Regions from separate parts of the Homo sapiens genome. Here all the other regions are linked to region 1. Evidence: promoter capture Hi-C in human tissues and cell types (Jung and others, 2019). All regions are on one chromosome and are shown on one strand. The core of a region is centred on a gene start or on the middle of the fragment in contact, and the rest is flanking DNA. Distances in the headings are between cores, read along the strand shown. Region 1 holds the start of SNURF (SNRPN upstream open reading frame). Region 2 overlaps UBE3A (ubiquitin protein ligase E3A). Region 3 overlaps UBE3A (ubiquitin protein ligase E3A).

Region 1 (3,620 bases), core at 675-3,174:
GATGGCCTCCAGGCCGCCACCACTCTAGTTTACTGCAGAGCTGAAAAGCAGTAGCCCAGTGCAGCTGCCATCCCACACAGGCGGAGGTGGTACAAATGCCTGGCCTCTAGCCACATTCCCCTCCAGTCCTCTACTGCTGCACCGTGGGTAAGGGGTGGCTGCCAAGCTTGCTAGGCGGAGCCTGCGCCAACCCATCTCCCTCCTCCCCCCTCTACTGCGCCACAACCGGAAAGGAACAGCTGCTGTATCAGCCAGGTGAAGGGGAGGGCTGCCATTCCTTCCAGGCAAAAGCTGCGTAAGCCCTCGCTCCCCTGCCCCACGTCTCGCCCCACTGCAAGCGGAGGCGACTGTCACCTCTGCTGCGTCTGCGCAACCTGCATCCTTTCCCAAGCAGCACTTTGGGGAGGGGGCAGCCGCCCACCTTGGCCGGCTTCCTCTCCTTACCACTGCACCCTAAAGAGGGTACGGCTGAAACTCCGAAACAGCAGAAGCTGAACACACACCACCTGCCCCCTCCCCACTGGCGGCTCTACAGGGAGGAAGCGGCCACCCCCCCGCTGAAGCGCTTGCGCAGATCTAAGCCGCTGCAGCGGCGGCCATCTTGAAGGAGCTGCACAATGGCAGTGACGCAACACAGACCCCCAGGTTATTTCGACATAGCCTTCCAAGACCTGGTTCCCAACAGAGAGAAACAATGAAAAAAAAGTAACCCCCAGGCATCACCTGGCCTATCAGTCAAAAGATCTGTAAATGCAAGTTCTGCACATCATTCCAGTCTTCTTATGCCATAGCCTCTAAAGCGAGGGTTCCTAAAGGGTACGCAAGGATTCCACGCATTTCTGCAGCCCCTGCGGCAGTGTAGGCATTGCGCAGTTTTAATAAAAAAGCACCACCACCACAGTAGGCAAACCAGATGACCATCGCAGGTCACAGGAAAATTAAAGGCTGCGGACTGTGCTACTGCCCCTTCTGATGCCCCCTCCTCTACACAGCAATCATTCAGCGTCCCTTAGTCACTCCGGACAGCGACAGGCCCCGCGGCCGCCATGCCCACCGCCTCCATGCCATGCCCACCGCCGCCATGCCTACCGCCGCCAAAGTCCACCACCGCCATGCCTACCCGCTGCCAATGCCCACCGCCGCCAATACCCACTGTCGCCGCCTTCCCCCTACCTCCCAGCCACTTCCTACGGACTCTCCCCGCGCCGCGACCACCAACACAACCCCCACCACTGTCACACCGACTCATCCCCCTGGTCCACTGCCATAGCCTCCTCGCCTCGGTCACTGCGACGAATTCCCCCCCCAGTCGCCCCACGTACCCTGCTCCACCACGCAGTGGTCACTATTATACACCTACCTGCGCTCAACACCCCCTAAATACCGATCACTTCACGTACCTTCGCCCCGCCACAATCACTCCAATATACCTACCTCCGCCTAAAATCCCTATGCACTGGTCCCCCCACGTACCCTCGCCACACGGAACTGCAATCACCCTGATGTACCCACCTCCACCCATGTCCCTTGCCCACTGCGGTTACCCCGCATGCTCCCAGTCACCACCGCCCTTCCCACCGCAGACACCCGCAATAGGACCTGTCGCGACACCACAGTTGGGGGCGGATGGGGGACGCGCCCCAATGCGAGCGGACAGGATACCATCGGGGCAGAACGGCACAACAGCAAGCCTCTGAACATTCCGGATCTGGTTCTCCAGAACAAAGGACTTTAGGGCCCAAATTCCGTTTATTCAGTACTCCAAGTCCTAAAAACTTGGAATATCTGATGAATAAAAGTGGCCGCTCCCCAGGCTGTCTCTTGAGAGAAGCCACCGGCACAGCTGACCTTGCCCGCTCCATCGCGTCACTGACCGCTCCTCAGACAGATGCGTCAGGCATCTCCGGCGGCCGCTCCACTCTGCGCCAGACTCGCTGCAGCAGCGGCAGGCTTCGCACACATCCCCGCCTGAGCATGCGCGCCAGCCTGCCTCTGCGGCCGCGCAGGCGTGCTTGTTTGCCGCAGTGCAGGGGTCCCAGCTCCCTCCCTCACCGGAATGACCTGGGGGGAGGGGGCTACTGGACCCCTAGGGCCCCACAGCACTGTTGCAATGAGAGGGGGCCTCTAGAAACCATAAGCAACCTGGGATCAATGGACATGTCTACCTGTTTTTTAAAATGTGTAAAATACTAAAGAAATAATTCTTGGTTCTACAATAAATTTTTGCACACACCACTGGCCAAACAATCCTAATTTACACTCACCCTCAGGTCTTCCTATGTGCGGTACAAAAAAGCTGGTTTGGAAAAGTTAAATGCGCCATAACCACAATCAATGCAAATACGCCAGACTTGAAATCCTTCCAAAAGAAAATATCCCTAACTCTAAAAGCATGCTACATTGTTCAAATTTGGTGCGATTTTTCTACCCTTTTTCTACTTTCTACATTTTGAGGGGGTAAATTGTGAAAATTATCTCCCCCAAAATCACAATATAATTAAACTCTCCTATACGGAATGGATAGATCATTCAACTCAAAAACACTGGCTATTCAATTTTTGTAAAACAAAAATATGAACTTAGACCCCCACCTAAGATCTAAGTAGGAGAGCCTTTCTTTGCCTATTAGAATTGGATACATTAAAATTTTTACCAATAATCAATGATAGCTGGAGTGGGGAGAAACAGGCACTTTTATATAATACTAATGGACAAGTAAACATTATTTACGACATAATATTCTATCTGCAGAAATAACGGAAGCATCAGTAACTCCAAAATTTAGACGCTGATGTAGCTTGGGAAAAGACACTGCAGAAAAGAAGAAAATAATCCTGAAACTGCATCTGCATAGTTTTTACACACATTTGCCCTTTCTCAATTGCCCATTATCGAAGAAGGGAGGGTGATGTGAGTGGAGGTTGACTAAATGGTTAAATCCCCTCCCAAGCCCTGTAAGCTACTGCTCAGTTCCCAATGATCCTACATTAAAACAGGTGCGCAGAGGCTTATCAATGCTGACTTCTATCGTAACAAAATCTCAGAAACTGTGTAATGTTCCTCACAGAGAACAGATAGGCTAACTAAATAAACGTATATATAAATAATAACATGCAATATGGCTGATGGAAAAAATGATGTATTAGGCTGAATCATATAAAATTGTCAATATTGAATTGTTTTGACCTACAAAAACATTGCAATTTCTAATAGTTCATTGATACATATTCACATAAAATAACATGGGAAGTTGACTCTGATCACGGGAGTCAATCGAAAAATAAAATGTAGGCTGGGCACAGTGGCTTACGCCTGTATTCCCAGCACTTTGGGAGGCCGAGGTGGGCAGATCACGAGGTCAGGAGATCGAGACCATCCTGGCCAACATGGTGAAACCCATCTCTACAAAAAACAGAAAAATTAGCTGGGCGTGATGGCACATGCCTGTAATCTTAGCTACTCGGGAGGCTGAGGCAGGAGAATTGCTTGAACGTGGGAGGCGGAGGTTGCAGTGAGCTGAGATCACACCACTGCACTCCAGCCTGGTGACAGGGCAAGACTCCATCTCAAAAAAATAAATAAAATAAAAGCATACTGTATGTTCAGTTTTACACTGAAAA
Region 2 (3,620 bases), core at 439-2,938, 470 kb before region 1:
AATTTATTTTGAGAACAGTAAATGTTTATCATCTGTCATTCTTTTTTTCATGCCCACATTCAGTTATTTGTAAGTGCTGAATGTATAAGTGTTCATCTACAGATAAGGATCAGTTCTTTTTTCCCCAACTAGAAATGTTACTCCAGTTGATAATAACAGCTCAAACGGAAATATAAGGCAGAGGTGAGAGAGTCACTTGAGGCCACGAATTGGAGACCAGCCTGGGCAACAAAGTGAGACCTTATCCCTATGAAAAATAAAATTAGCCCAGCTTGGGAGGCTGAGGTGGGGGGATTGCTTGAACCCTGGAGTTCCAGGCTGCAGTGAGTTGTTATCACACCACTGCACTCCAGCCGCGGTGACAGACCCTGTCCCTTAAAAAAAAAAAAATTATAACCAGCCACATTGAAATATTTTGTAAGACATTAATAGAAGACTAAATGTTCTCATATGTTTACTGTTTGTGTTAAGTACGTATGGTTTTTAGAACAACAGTTTTCTATCAAGTGTGGTCTGGTTCACTTAGAATTAGATGGGGTAGATTTTTTGAAAAGCGTTTTGAAGTTAAATTAGAAGCTAATGGTTTTTTGTCACTAAATCAAATTTTGTTTTATGCGTTTAAGTGCTACATTTATTTGATAGGCAGGTGAATGTAACAGATTAAACTTGAAAATAATGTAGCTATGATTCCTTCAAGGAAAAACCCACCTACCTTTAGTTCTTTTAGTATATTGCATTATAAGTCTTTTGTGTGTGCATATATAGCAGGCATAAATTGGCATAATTCTGGGTTTAATTTTAGGCTAGGCGCTATGGAAGTTTGAACTCTAATTACAGTGTAAAAATAACCCAGAGGAAAATTTCAGAATAATAAATCATTGGGACTATATGGTACAGATGTCCCTGTTTTCAGATTGTAGAATTGTTGACCAGTAGGAATGCTTTATGATTAAAAGCCAGGAAATTAAAGTAATTCTGATGATTTGGTATTTCTAAAGATTTTCATAGATGACAGTTGAGAACTACTCTCAGATGAGATTCTTCCATTGCTGGTAAGTCATGTAATAAAACACTTAAGTAAATATTTTAATGAGGAATGATAACATTTTAATATTGGCACATTGTGAGTCTACCTTCTGTAGTTAGTAGGTAAATAAGAAATAAACATACCTTATTTAAAAAAAAAATTTCAAAGAACCCAAGGGAGGGGAGAGCCAAGGTGCACATTAGAAGGAGATTACAGTACTCTTCCAGTGCACAGTGGATGTGTTGTGATTCCAGAGTTCTATGTATGTATGACTGTGTAGCCCAGATTTACCAGCATGGGCTCAGTTTTAAATGTTAGGTTAGGCTCATAAATCATGAAAAGTTCCTAGGAATTCTAACATTTTTACATTTCCAGAAGAGAGCCTCTTGTATTTTGTGGTAGTTGCCCCACCATCCCTCAAATATTGGTGTGTAGAATCTATTTTTGAGGATGAGGAAATACAGAAAAGAAAAATAAAAAGCTATTTTTTTTTAAGTATAAGAAGAAATGAAAGGTTTCTCTTCGCTTCATAGCCAATTCTAAAACTTAACAGTTGTTAAGTGTGTTTAACTGTAGAGGGAAAAAAATGCCTGGAAGGAAATTACCAATCAAATATAAAATGTAAGATAGCTGTAAAAGTACTGATATACATACAGCTTTTTTCCTTTTGGGGAGGCAGTATTTAAAAAAAATCCTACCAAACATATTCTCTAACTTTCAAAACTGTTAATAGCTTTATTGAGATAATTCACATACTATAAAATTCACCCTTTTAAAGTTTTTAGTATATTCACAGTTCTGCAGCCATCACCACTATTGAATTTTAGAACATTTTCATCATCCCCAAAATAAATCCTAACCTGTTAGCAGCCATTCCCCATTCTTTCCTGGCCTCTGGAAACCACTAATCTGCTTTGTCTCTATGAATTTATTTATTCTGGATATTTCATATAAATGGGAATCATACAGTATGTGTCCTTTTGTGTGTGGGTTCTTTTACTTACCATGGTATTTTCAAGGTATGTTCATTGACATGTATGTCTGTTTTTTTTGGGTAACACACACTCTTGATTACTGTAGCTTTGTAGTAAGTCTTGAAACCAGGAAATGTGAGTATTCTAACTTATTCTTTTTCAAAATTGTTTTGGGTCTCTGGGTTTCTCAAATTTCCATAGAATTTTAGGGTTAGCTTGCAAAAAAATGCAACTGGGATTTTAATAGGACTTGGATTTGTGTTGAATCTGTAGGTCTATTTGGGAAGTATTGCTACCTTAATACTGTCTTCTCATTCATGAGCATGGGATATCTTTCCATTTATTAAGGTGTTCTTTAATTTCTTTCATGTTTTGTAGTTTTCAGTATACAGGTCTTGTACTTATTACTTTAAAAATTTATTTCTAAGAATTTTATGTTTTGATGGTATTGCAAATTGAATTTTTTAAAATTTCATTTCAGGTTTTTAATTCCTTGTGCATAGATTTTTGTGTACTAAAACTTGTGTTTCATATAATTTTTTTTTCCTCTTAACTGTGTTATAGGAATCTTTCAAATGGTTGGCTACATACACATCCATCTGATTCACTTAGTAAACATTTCTTGAACACCTACTGTGTAGTGGGCCTTTTTTTCTAGGTCCTGGTAGAGACAGCAGTGTATAAAACCCACTCAGTCCTTTGCTTTCATGGCACTTAAATCCTAAAAAGAGATCATAAAGATAGGTAAAATATATGTTACATAGTGCTAAGGAGAAGAAACAAATAAGGGAAGTGTTTGCAGGTGAAAAGGATGATGGGAAATTTTAGATAGGGTAGGTAGAGAAAACTTCACTGAAATGGTAACTTGGGTGAAGAACTGAGGGAGATGAGAGAGCTAGCCATGTGGATATTTGGGGGAAGAGCATTTCAGGCAGAGTGTAGTGAATAGGGAAACCCCAAAGTGAGAGTGCCTGATGTGTTTGAAGAACTCGAGGTGTGGCCAGTGTAGCTTTAGAAAAGTAATTGATGGGAAATAGAGAGAATGGAGGGTACAGATATTTTGATCATAATAAGGTGTTTGATTTTTACCTATAAGTGAGATGGGAAGCTATTGGAAGTCTTTGAGCAGAGTAGTGAAAAAGTATGACTTATGTTTAGCAAGGTCACTCTGGTTGCTGTGTTAATCATAGACTGAAAAAGGGGACAAGGGCAGAAACAGACCAATTGGTAGACCATTAGTACAGATTAAGACGTGACTGAAATGGACAGAGTGGTCACAGTGAGGGTGGTGAGAAGTGGTTGAATTCTTGATATATGTTGAAATAGAGTCCATAGGATTTGGTAGTAGACCAGATGAAAGTGGGAAATAAAGGGAGGAGTAAAACATGATGCCAAAGTTTTTTGACCAGAGCAGCTGAGAGAATGGAGTTGGATAATTCTTATAAATTATTGCATTAAATCTGTGCATCATATCACATGCCCACTTAACTACAGGTAATTTTACCATATAAGCTTGTGGGGGGAAAAGAGGAAAAACAGAAAAAAGGATGGAAAAGCATGTTTTAAAATATAATAAATTAGGCCTTAATGAAAAATTGTCCTTGAGAAACCTGAGATGG
Region 3 (3,620 bases), core at 591-3,090, 450 kb before region 1:
CTAAACATTTCTCTAGAAGTTTTTATAACATTAATAAAACTAGTATACTTTTCTCTCCTAGAGAGTTACAGTGGAGGTAAAAGGAGTGGCTTGCAGGATGGAGAAGCTGCACCAGTGTTATTGGAAGTGAGCCACCATTTGAATTTGCTAGCTCATGCTGCAGTATTCAGATTAGTGGGTGTTTTGTGATCATATTTTCTGCGATTCAAATCAAGACCTAAAATTGATTCTCATTCTGAGATTTACATTTTATTATCCAATGTTATTTGGTTATTGTTTCAGTTTTAAAATTTCTGACTTGTTATTCTGACACACTTTAGGATAACCTAAGTCAATAGTTTAATACAAAAATTTCCCTTTGGTTATATGTTTTGAATTAGGTTATATGTTCTGCATTTACAAGCACATACAGGATTCTTACTTCCAGCAACTTGGCAGTAAAAGAATAAGTAGACTCTTTAGGAGCCAAAGTCAAGCTTGGGAACTGTTGCTAGGTGGTATATATTTCATAGTTTATGTTTGTTTCCAAGACAAGGTCTCACTCCATCGCCCAGGCTGGAGTGCAGTGGCACGATCACAGTTCACTGCAACTTTGACCTTCTGGGCTCAAGTGACCCTCCCACCTCAGCCTCCCAAGTTGCTGGGACTAAAGGCACCCACCACCACACCCGGCTAAGAGACGAGGTTTCATCATGTTGCCCAGGTTGACCTTGAACTCCTGAGCTCAAGTGGTCCTTATGTCTTGACCTCCCAAAGTGCTGAGATTACAGACATGAACTACCACACCTGGCATATGTCATAGTTTTGAGAGTTTGAATTCTAACCTCGGGACTTTGGTAACTTATTTATAATATTCTAGAAATATACTGTTATTAGGATGAGTAGAAATTCATTCAGACAGAAACTATTATAAATTACTGCAAGAAAAATGTCTGCTAGTTCTGCATATATTCATTTTTCTCTTGATTAAAAAACAATTTCCAATTTGAGTAGAACAACTTTGCTATGTTTAATAGACCCAGGACAGATTTATTTTAAGGTAATAATCTTTCAATCCTTCTTCTTCTATACTGGATTGGTTTAAATTACTTAGCTTGTCTTATCAATGGTTTTTAATAGCCTACTTTAATATATGTAAAAAGTAGTAATTAATATGTTACAGTTTGGTGGCAAACATTTTGATGCCAAAGTTCACATATTCTCTTGCTTAGGGAACAGAAATTGGGAAGATAGATGTAGTTATCATTTGATAATGTATTTAAACTCTATCCCATTTCAGGATCTCAAAACTTTGTAACAGTTACATATTGTACTTCTAAGACTTAGATTTGTTTTTCTTCTTGTGTCTTACCTTTTTGCAGTAATATTTTTATTTTCCTATCATCATGTCCTCATTTTTTCCCTCTCTTCTCTTTCCCTGTTAATTTTGAAAGTTTTGCTGCCTACGTGTTTGAAAACTTCTAATCTGCCTCTCTTCCCTCAGTGCCAGCAGGTTTATTTTTTGTTTTGCAAGCCAGCTCTGCCTCCTTACAGTATGACATCTGATGCTGGAGGGTCGCACTTTCAAAAATGAGTCAGCTGGTACATGGGGTTATCATCAATTTTTAGCTCTTCTGTCTGGGAGATACAAGTTTGGAAGCAATCTTGGGGTACTTACCCACAAGGCTGGTGGAGACCAGGTGTGTCACATAGGTGATTTGCTTGCTCCCTGGGGGAGAGGGTGGAGTGAAATTTTTGCATTTGTGTCACAGCCAAGTCACTGCCACCTCCAGCATGCCCCAGTTTTTAGTTGTTATGTAATTTTGTGCAAAATTGAAAATTTAAATACATTGCAAAGAAGATCTAAAATAAATATTTGAGCTGCTGGAGTCTTTTTTTTTTTTTTTTTTCCTTTTCCATTCTTGTCCTTGGAATCTGAATGAATTGCAGTGAGGGTAATTTTGAGAGTCTGATAAAGAAGTGAGGGGTTGTTTTTTGTTTTTGTTTTTGTTTTTAGCTAAGAAATTTAGAAAACAGGTTTGTGTGTGTGCGTGTGTGTGTGTGTGTGTGTGTGTGTGACTGATTTTAAGATTCTTGTTAGAGTTGCTTAAAGTTGGAAGCCTAAAGTCAGTGAGAAGTTCACAAATCAGGACTTTGTAATGCCAATTTGAAAATTTAGCTTTTGACCTCAAAAAACATTTTTTATCTAGTTTGGGAATTTCTAAGTGTTAGAAATCAATATTATATTGACTCATTCATTGTTGCTGATGCTGTTTATAAAAGTGAATAGATAGGGAAATACTGATTCATATCTCGTGAAATGAAAATGAAAGGCTTTTTAGTGACTTAGAATTTTAAATATTTCTACATGAGAGAGCAGTAGTATATTTAGAAATAACAAAGTAACTGGCAACTGTTTAAAACTGAAGTTAATTCACAGCTATCCAGTGCAAAACTTCACCTCAGGTGATACACTTTTGACAGGTAATACATACAGTAAGTGTATTTTTAGGGAAACAGTTTCATTGTTGAACCAAGATAATCATCATTAGAATGTTGTATCTGATTTAAGTGTCTTTAAACTTACCAAGGTATTAGATTTTAGTTTGAATTGTCTGGAGTAGCGGTAGCGGTTGGCACATTTGTTCTTAAAGGGCCAGAAAATAAATATTTTAGGCTTTATGGGCCATGTGGTTTCTGCCACAAGTCCTCAGCTCTGTTCTTTTAGTGTGAAAGCAGCCATAGATGATACCTAAATGAATGAGTATGGCTGCATCCCAATAAAACTTCATTTACAAAACTACATGGCTGGCCTAAGCTTTAGTCTGTCTGCCTAGGGAGTAGTTTACTGAGCCACTAATCTAAAGTTTAATACTGTGAGTGAATACCAGTGAGTACCTTTGTTAATGTGGATAACCAATACTTGGCTATAGGAAGTTTTTTAGTTGTGTGTTTTATTACACGTATTTGACTTTGTGAATAATTATGGCTTATAATGGCTTGTCTGTTGGTATCTATGTATAGCGTTTACAGTTTCCTTTAAAAAACATGCATTGAGTTTTTTAATAGTCCAACCCTTAAAATAAATGTGTTGTATGGCCACCTGATCTGACCACTTTCTTTCATGTTGACATCTTTAATTTTAAAACTGTTTTATTTAGTGCTTAAATCTTGTTTACAAAATTGTCTTCCTAAGTAATATGTCTACCTTTTTTTTTGGAATATGGAATATTTTGCTAACTGTTTCTCAATTGCATTTTACAGATCAGGAGAACCTCAGTCTGACGACATTGAAGCTAGCCGAATGTAAGTGTAACTTGGTTGAGACTGTGGTTCTTATTTTGAGTTGCCCTAGACTGCTTTAAATTACGTCACATTATTTGGAAATAATTTCTGGTTAAAAGAAAGGAATCATTTAGCAGTAAATGGGAGATAGGAACATACCTACTTTTTTTCCTATCAGATAACTCTAAACCTCGGTAACAGTTTACTAGGTTTCTACTACTAGATAGATAAATGCACACGCCTAAATTCTTAGTCTTTTTGCTTCCCTGGTAGCAGTTGTAGGGAAATAGGGAGGTTGAGGAAAGAGTTGAGTTTAACAGTCTCAACGCCTACCATATTTAAGGCATCAAGTACTA

Evidence for each region. Contacts are between HindIII fragments. The study calls those that stand out against the background at their distance.
Region 2: a contact is called between a fragment that was not itself captured here and the fragment with the promoter of SNURF in region 1, in 1 of the 25 tissues and cell types used here (dorsolateral prefrontal cortex).
Region 3: a fragment that was not itself captured here is called in contact with the fragment with the promoter of SNURF in region 1 in 1 of the 25 tissues and cell types used here (dorsolateral prefrontal cortex).

What each region holds. Positions count from the first base shown.
Region 1 is chr15:24,953,291-24,956,910 of GRCh38, reverse strand. SNURF (SNRPN upstream open reading frame) reads right to left here and starts at 1,924. Exons shown (of 3, transcript NM_001394334.1): 1 at 1,849-1,924. The coding sequence starts at 1,862. SNRPN (small nuclear ribonucleoprotein polypeptide N) reads right to left here and starts at 1,924. Exons shown (of 10, transcript NM_003097.6): 1 at 1,849-1,924. All of the region lies in intron 4 of SNHG14 (small nucleolar RNA host gene 14), which reads right to left. RefSeq lists enhancers at 74-123, 1-377, 394-553, 378-943, 944-1,509. The HindIII fragment of the contact is 13,657 bases long and covers 1-3,620 here.
Region 2 is chr15:25,423,598-25,427,217 of GRCh38, reverse strand. The region is part of intron 1 of UBE3A (ubiquitin protein ligase E3A); the gene reads left to right. Among named protein-coding and RNA genes, the nearest start is that of UBE3A, 14 kb to the left of the region's middle. The HindIII fragment of the contact is 5,028 bases long and covers 1-3,620 here.
Region 3 is chr15:25,405,126-25,408,745 of GRCh38, reverse strand. It overlaps UBE3A (ubiquitin protein ligase E3A), which reads left to right. Exons shown (of 13, transcript NM_130839.5): 4 at 3,244-3,285. All of the region lies in intron 147 of SNHG14 (small nucleolar RNA host gene 14), which reads right to left. Among named protein-coding and RNA genes, the nearest start is that of UBE3A, 32 kb to the left of the region's middle. The HindIII fragment of the contact is 3,743 bases long and covers 1-3,620 here.